Regions from separate parts of the Homo sapiens genome. Here region 2 is linked to region 1. The links are contacts of gene promoters, found by promoter capture Hi-C in human tissues and cell types (Jung and others, 2019). All regions are on one chromosome and are shown on one strand. Each heading gives the region's core, a stretch centred on a gene start or on the middle of the fragment in contact. The rest is flanking DNA. Distances are from core to core; before and after follow the strand shown.

Region 1 (4,101 bases), core at 515-3,014:
AAGTCTTTAAGAGCACAAAATCTTCAAGGGAAAACTCCTGCCAGAATTGGCCAACAGAGCCAGAAAACAACAGCCTGCCAACAGGGATCTTGTTTAATGCAAGTCACTAACTAGACTCACAGAAAGTGAATACCTAAAAGTCAGTGCTGTAGTTGTTCAAATTTGAGTTTTGGGAGGACCCTTCCAAACATACATAACCAAGACTAAACCACCACATTCCATGTTAAAGGGTTCTCTGCTTGTCAGAACAGGACAACCACCACCACCATCAAAAAAACTGGGAAATAGACTTTCCTTATGACACTTAGAATTCCTGCAAACACGGGTTAGTTATTTTACATGAAGCATGTACGTGACTCCTGGTTTCTGAGAAAACATTTTTTTCTCTCTATCCTACAGTGCTAGGCAAAGCACCCCAAAGCCTCTTGATTTTAAACACAGAAAACTCCACTGCCGAAATGTTTGCCCTATCCCAGCGCTAAAGCCTTAGAAGCACCGACGAATCTAGGCCAAGGAGTACAAGATGGCAGTGAGATACCACAATGCAGGCAAGGAAGACGGGATGGGCCCCAATCGGGAAGCACGCGCCACCAGCTCTGGAGAGAACCGTCTGAGGAGACGCGGGGGAGAGTTTGGGTCACAGGAGCAGGAAGGAACTGGCAGGTGTCTGTCACCTTATCATCCCGGACACCATGTTTACATTGTAATTGGCTTCTTTACAGAGAGGGAGGGACCAGGTTCCCAGTGTGAGTGATGTTTAGAGGTTTTCTGAGAAGCACAAGGACTGGACTTTGACAGGAAGCAACGAGGCAAGAGGGAAGCTCGAGAACAGGTTTTGCTGAGGATTCCCCCCAAGAAAAGTGCTCCCCGGGAGGCCGTTCCTGGCACCAAGACTGGCGGAGCCACCACACCCGTTAAAGGGATCCACCTGGACAGCGATCAGGCGTGAGCCCCCCGAGGGGAAGTTGAAGTGGAAGCAGACGTGGGTGGCAAAAGGCTGCATTGGGGGTCTGACCCAGAAGGAAACCTGATCAGGAGGGGGGAGAGGCTGAACGGAGGAAGGGGCCGGCAGAGTGGGTAGTTGAGTAGGATGAGACTTCTTTGGAGGCGAGGCTAACTACATTAAACTCTGGGAAGGGAGGGCTTCCGTCGGACCCTGGGAGAAAGGCAGGTCTGGAGAGGAAAGACTGGCTTGGGGGGCCTGCGCGTCCGGCTCTGGAAGGCAACTCCTACTGGGGGCGGCGCGCAGCCGGCCTGGCGGGCGAGCCTCGTGCGGCCCGGGGGTGCGGCCGGCCCGCGCGAGCTCAACAGGAGCTCACCTGGGATGCGTGCGGCCCTGTGGGAGGAAACTTCCTGGGTAGGTGAAAGCTGCCCCGCGGGAGCCGGCCCGGCACCGGCAGAGCGCGGCCGGGTCACAGTCCACTCGGCAGCGGCGCGGAGGGCGGCGAGGGCCGCGCGGGGCGGGGCAGGAGGCGCCCGACGACCCTGGGCGAGGTCGCGGCGGCCGCAGGGGGGCTCCGGCTCCGGAGGGCGCCCTCCCGCAGTCGCACCCGCTTTCCCTCACACACACCGGCCGCCCGGCCCACAAGCCAAGAAGCTGCCTGCTTGGCCCACAAGCCAAGAAGTCGGCGAAGCTGAGGGCGGTGGGGGAGGGGGCACCGGCCGGCCAAGCCCGGCGGACGGGCGTGTGGCGTTACCTGTGTCAGAGAGAGCTGGGCCGCCGCAGCCATGGTGTTTCCATCATGCAAGGGAGGGGAAGGAAGACGGGCTGACTGGGGCTCGGGGCGGGGAGGAGGCGGAGGGAGCGGCCGCAGGCGAGGCCGGGGCGGGCGGGCGGGCGTCTCCCCTAACTTCCACAACTTCCCTCCCCACGCCCGCCCCGCCCCGCCTGGCCCCGCCCGCCTGCCCGCCCGCCGGAGCCGGCCGCGGCGCCGCCCAAACCCTGGCGCCGGAGTCTCGGCCACCGGACCAGAGCCTGCCCCCGGGGCCGCCTTGGAAAACCCGGCGCGGACATAAAATTAAAGCGGACGGGCTGCGGAGGCGACTGCAGATTGACCTGTGAACTTCAGACAGGCCACCTACCTACGCTGAGCTCCTGCTTCTGAAAAATGGGGGAAATTGTAACTAGAGGCCCAGTTACTTACAAAGACTAAATGAGATAATGATAGAAAATAATAATGGCACTTTATATATGCCAGGCTCTGTACTAGACTCTTATTTTTTGAATTGTATGAATGAAGGAACTGAAACACAAATAAGTGTCTTACTAAGGTCATACAGCTAATTATATAGCTGAATTAGAATCCAAGTCTAACTGTAAATATTTAACCATCTGCTAGTATATTGGAAAAGAAGACATTAAGTCATTCCCTCCCACAGCCAAAATCCATTTGGAAAGGGGAAGCAAAAATGTATTTGCCTGGTGCCTGTCACATTTAGATTGTTTAACAAGGGAACGCTGGTGCCTGTAGCACTCCTAGCTTCTCCCATCATCCACTTAGCAAACTCCTCCTTCTTTCTCAGGACATAATTCAAGTTTCACCTCCTTTGCAAAGTATCTTTTTCTCTTCCTTATGTCAGAGTTACACACTCTCCTTTATAACCTTTCTTCTCTACCTTGTGAAGTCATCACCCTAATGACAGTTTACACCTATCTATCCCTCTAGATTAAGAGCTCCTCAATGGCAAGAACTGTTTTCAATATATTTCTATATCGTCAGACCCTAGCATTACAGTGCATGCTCAGTAAAGGCCTTCGTTCCTGCCTATATTAAACATAACACATCCTACACCTTCTGATGCTGCCAACCTTCAGTTGGAATACCCAGTTACTTGAAATTCATCTTCAAAGTCTCAGAGTATATACCACCTACTTCAAGAAGCCTTCTAGGAACTCCACACCCCACCTCTAAGTTGTTCTGATGTGACCGTTTTTATACTCTGCCTTATCTGTAAGCGTTAGTTGAGGGTTTGTCTCCACCTCACTGCACTGTAAAATCCTTGAGGACAAGGGGCTGACTCACTGCTTTATCTCCCTCATAGTTTAGCCTACCACAGAGGCCTCAATAAATGTATTTGCCCGAATTGGTCTTAATTTCTTAGTCACGATGGCTTCCCATTACAACAAACCACAACTCTATCAGGCCTACACCCATTACCATTATCATAGCAGTCCCCGTGGTAGGAGGGACAACTGAACAAGACCCAGGATGGAGTTAGCCCCACCTAAGTTTTTAGACTATTGCCTCCACAAGCAAACCATTCCAGAAATTTCCCAAGGAACTCCTAATTCTACTCAGACTCCTTCTGGCAAAGGCCAGCTAACAAGAGCAAGCCATATAGGTCTGGTGAGTAACCACTTATTCAAGAGCATCTTCCTTGGCTTCTTTTTTGCTGCTAATCTCTTTAACTGAAGAGAGAATAAGAGATACTGTTTTACATTACTTCACTTTGGTACACTTATCAGCCATAACCACAACCGGTGTTTCTACCGGTGTTTTCTACTTTATATTAGCACATTTGAGCTTCACAACTCTAAAAGGAAGTAATCGTCATACTCACTTTACAAATGAGGTAATGCAGGGTCACAGAGGCTAAGTGATTTGCCCAGGGTTATACAACTGATAGACAAAGCAGCATAGTATAGTGAAATAAATAGGACTCAGACATTAGGAATATCCAGGTTCCATTCCTGGCTCTCCCATTCACTAGTTGTATGCCCTTAGGGTTGTTGTGAGGATGAATGAGATGACATATACAAAAGTGCCTAAACTTGTAGCTACACAAATTATGAAATCTGAAAATCATGGAGCAAATCGCTTTGGGGAGTATAATTTCACTTGCTATTCAAGGGGACTCCTCCAAACCATATGAGATGTAAGATATTCCTCTCAGATGAATAAGGTGGAAACCCTGCCATGTAGTTTCCGGAAAGGCAGTGCAGAGTAGCAAAGAGAATATTAAGAATCAGAGTGTGACCGCAGGCAAACCATTTAACCTCTTTGAGCTTCAGTTTCTCATACAGGAAAAGTAAGGAATTATTACTGTTTTAACTTTTATATGATTTATATTAAGTCAAAAGCACACCTTACCCAGGCATGG
Region 2 (4,101 bases), core at 471-2,970, 130 kb before region 1:
ATCAACTAATGAGCAAAATCACCAGCTAACATCATAACGACAGGATCAAATTCACACATAACAATATTAACTTTAAATGTAAATGGACTAAATGCTCCAATTAAAAGACACAGACTGGCAAGTTGGATAAAGAGTCAAGACCCATTAGTGTGCTGTATTCAGGAAACCCATCTCACGTGCAGAGACACACATAGGCTCAAAATAGAAGGATGGAGGAAGATCTACCAAGCAAATGGAAAACAAAAAAAGGCAGGGGTTGCAATCTTAGTCTCTGATAAAACAGACTTTAAACCAACAAAGATCAAAAGAGACAAAGAAGGCCATTACATAATGGTAAAGGGATCAATTCAACAAGAAGAGCTAACTATCCTAAGTATATATGCACCCAATACAGGAGCACCCAGATTCATAAAGCAAGTCCTTAGAGACCTACAAAGAGACTTAGACTCCCACACAATAATAATGGGAGACTTTAACACCCCACTGTTAACATTAGACAGATCAATGAGACAGAAAGTTAAAAAGGATATCCAGGAATTGAACTCAGCTCTGCACCAAGCAGACCTAATAGACATCTACAGAACTCTCCACCACAAATCAACAGAATATACATTATTTTCAGCACCACACCACACCTATTCCAAAATTGACCATGTAGTTGGAAGTAAAGCTCTCCTCAGCAAATGTAAAAGAACAGAAATTATAACAAACTGTCTCTCAGACCACAGTGCAATCAAACTAGAACTCAGGATTAAGAAACTCACTCAAAACCACTCAACTACATGGAAACTGAACAACCTGCTCCTGAATGACTACTGGGTACATAACGAAATGAAGGCAGAAATAAAGATCTTCTTTGAAACCAACGAGCACAAAGACACAACATACCAGAATCTCTGGGACACATTCAAAGCAGTGTGTAGAGGGAAATTTATAGCACTAAATGCCCACAAGACAAAGCAGGAAAGATCCAAAATTGACACCCTAACATCACAATTAAAAGAATTAGAAAAGCAAGAGCAAACACATTCAAAAGCTAGCAGAAGGCAAGAAATAACTAAAATCAGAGCAGAACTGAAGGAAACAGACAAAAAAGCCCTTCAAAATATTAATGAATCCAGGAGCTGGTTTTTTGAAAGGATCAACGAAATTGATAGACCGCTAGCAAGACTAATAAAGAAAAAAAGAGAGAAGAATCAAATAGACGCAATAAAAACTGATAAAGGGGATATCACCACCGATCCCACAGAAATACAAACTACCATCAGAGAATACTACAAACACCTCTATGCAAATAAACTAGAAAATCTAGAAGAAATGGATAAATTCCTCGACACATACACCCTCCCAAGACTAAACCAGGAAGAAGTTGACTCTCTGAATAGACCAATAACAGACTCTGAAATTGTGGCAATAATCAATAGCTTACCAACCAAAAAGAGTCCAGGACCAGATGGATTCACAGCCGAATTCTACCAGAGGTACAAGGAGGAACTGGTACCATTCCTTCTGAAACTATTCCAATCAACAGAAAAAGAGGGAATCCTCCCTAACTCATTTTATGAGGCCAGCATCATCCTGATACCAAAGCCAGGCAGAGATGCAACCAAAAAAGAGAATTTTAGACCAATATCCTTGATGAACATTGATGCAAAAATCCTCAATCAAATACTGGCAAACCGAATCCAGCAGCACATCAAAAAGCTTATCCACCATGATCAAGTGGGCTTCATCCCTGGGATGCAAGGCTGGTTCAATATATGCCAATCAATAAATGTAATCCAGCATATAAACAGAACCAAAGACAAAAACCACATGATTATCTCAATAGATGCAGAAAAGGCCTTTGACAAAATTCAACAACCCTTCATGCTAAAAATTCTCAATAAATTAGGTATTGATGGGACGTATCTCAAAATAATAAGAGCTATCTATGACAAACCCACAGCCAATATCATACTGAATGGGCAAAAACTGCAAGCATTCCCCTTGAAAACTGGCACAAGACAGGGATGCCCTCTCTCACCACTCCTATTCAACACAGTGTTGGAAGTTCTGGCCAGGGCCATTAGGCAGGAGAAGGAAATAAAGGGTATTCAATTAGGAAAAGAGGAAATCAAATTGTCCCTGTTTGCAGATGACATGATTATATATCTAGAAAACCCCACTGTCTCAGCCCAAAATCTCCTTAAGCTGATAAGCAACTTCAGCAAAGTCTCAGGATACAAAATCAATGTATAAAAATCACAAGCATTCTTATACACCAATAACAGACAGAGAGCCAAATCATGAGTGAACTCTCATTCACAATTGCTTCAAAGAGAATAAAATACCTAGGAATCCAACTTACAAGGGACATGAGGGACCTCTTCAAGGAGAACTACAAACCACTGCTCAATGAAATAAAAGAGGATACAAACAAATGGAAGAACATTCCATGTTCATGGGTAGGAAGAATCAATATCGTGAAAATGGCCATACTGCCCAAGGTAATTTATAGATTCAATGCCATCCCCATCAAGCTACCAATGACTTTCTTCACAGAATTGGAAAAAACTACTTTAAAATTCATATGGAACCAAAAAAGAGCCTGCATCGCCAAGTCAATCCTAAGCCAAAAGAACAAAGCTGGCAGCATCAAATACCTGACTTCAAACTATACTACAAGGCTACAGTAACCAAAACAGCATGGTACTGGTACCAAAACAGAGATATAGATCAATGGAACAGAACAGAGCCCTTAGAAATAACGCCGCATATCTACAACTATCTGATCTTTGACAAACCTGAGAAAAACAAGCAATGAGGAAAGGATTCCCTATTTAATAAATGGTGCTGGGAAAACTGGCTAGCCATATGTAGAAAGCTGAAACTGGATCCCTTCCTTACACCTTATACAAAAATTAATTCAAGATGGATTAAAGACTTAAACGTTAGACCTAAAACCATAAAAACCCTAGAAGAAAACCTAGGCATCACCATTCAGGACATAGGCATGGGCAAGGACTTCATGTCTAAAACACCAAAAGCAATGACAACAGAAGCCAAAATTGACAAATGGGATCTCATTAAACTAAAGAGCTTCTGCACAGCAAAAGAAACTACCATCAGAGTGAACAGGCAACCTACAAAATGGGAGAAAATTTTTGCAACCTACTCATCTGACAAAGGGCTAATATCCAGAATCTACAATGAACTCAAACAAATTTACAAGAAAAAAAAAACAACCCCATCAAAAAGTGGATGAAGGATATGAACAGACACTTCTCCAAAGAAGACATTTATGCAGCCAACAGACACGTGAAAAAATGCTCATCATCACTGGCCATCAGAGAAATGCAAATCAAAACCACAATGAGATACCATCTCACACCAGTTAGAATGGCAATCATTAAAAAGTCAGGAAACAACAGGTGCTGGAGAGGATATGGAGAAACAGGAACATTTTTACACTGTTGGTGGGACTGTCAACTAGTTCAACCATGTGGAATTCAGTGTGGCAATTCCTCAGGGATCTAGAACTAGAAATACCATTTGACCCAGCCATCCCATTACTGGGTATATACCCAAAGGACTATAAATCATGCTGCTATAAAGACACATGCACACGTATATTTATTGCAGCACTATTCACAATAGCAAAGACTTGGAACCAACCCAAATGTCCATCAATGATAGACTGGATTAAGAAAATGTGGCACATATACACCATGGAATACTATGGAGCCATAAAAAATGATGAGTTCATGTCCTTTGTAGGGACATGGATGAAACTGGAAATCATCATTCTCAGTAAACTATCACAAGGACAAAAAACCAAACACCGCATGTTCTCACTCATAGGTGGGAATTGAACAATGAGAACACATGGACACAGGAAGGGGAACATCACACACCATGGCCTTTCGTGGGTTGGGGGGAAGGGGGAGGGATAGCATTAGGAGATATACCTAATGCTAAATGACGAGTTAATGGGTGCAGCACACCAGCATGGCACATGTATACATATGTAACTAACCTGCACATTGTGCACATGTACCCTAAAACTTTAATAAAATAAAATAAAATAAAATAAAATAAAATAAAATAAAAGATTTGTCA

What was found. Contacts are between HindIII fragments. The study calls those that stand out against the background at their distance.
Region 2: a fragment that was not itself captured here is called in contact with the fragment with the promoter of EPS15 in region 1 in 1 of the 25 tissues and cell types used here (spleen).

The regions. Positions count from the first base shown.
Region 1 is chr1:51,517,502-51,521,602 of GRCh38, forward strand. EPS15 (epidermal growth factor receptor pathway substrate 15) reads right to left here and starts at 1,765. Exons shown (of 25, transcript NM_001981.3): 1 at 1,698-1,765. The coding sequence starts at 1,730. It overlaps EPS15-AS1 (EPS15 antisense RNA 1), which reads left to right and starts at 771. Exons shown (of 5, transcript NR_183651.1): 1 at 771-945. It also overlaps a transcript of OSBPL9 not described here. RefSeq lists an enhancer at 1,020-1,948 and silencers at 1,179-1,648, 1,799-1,988. The HindIII fragment of the contact is 17,142 bases long and covers 1-4,101 here.
Region 2 is chr1:51,387,406-51,391,506 of GRCh38, forward strand. The region is part of intron 21 of EPS15 (epidermal growth factor receptor pathway substrate 15); the gene reads right to left. Among named protein-coding and RNA genes, the nearest start is that of TTC39A, 59 kb to the left of the region's middle. The HindIII fragment of the contact is 4,626 bases long and covers 1-4,033 here.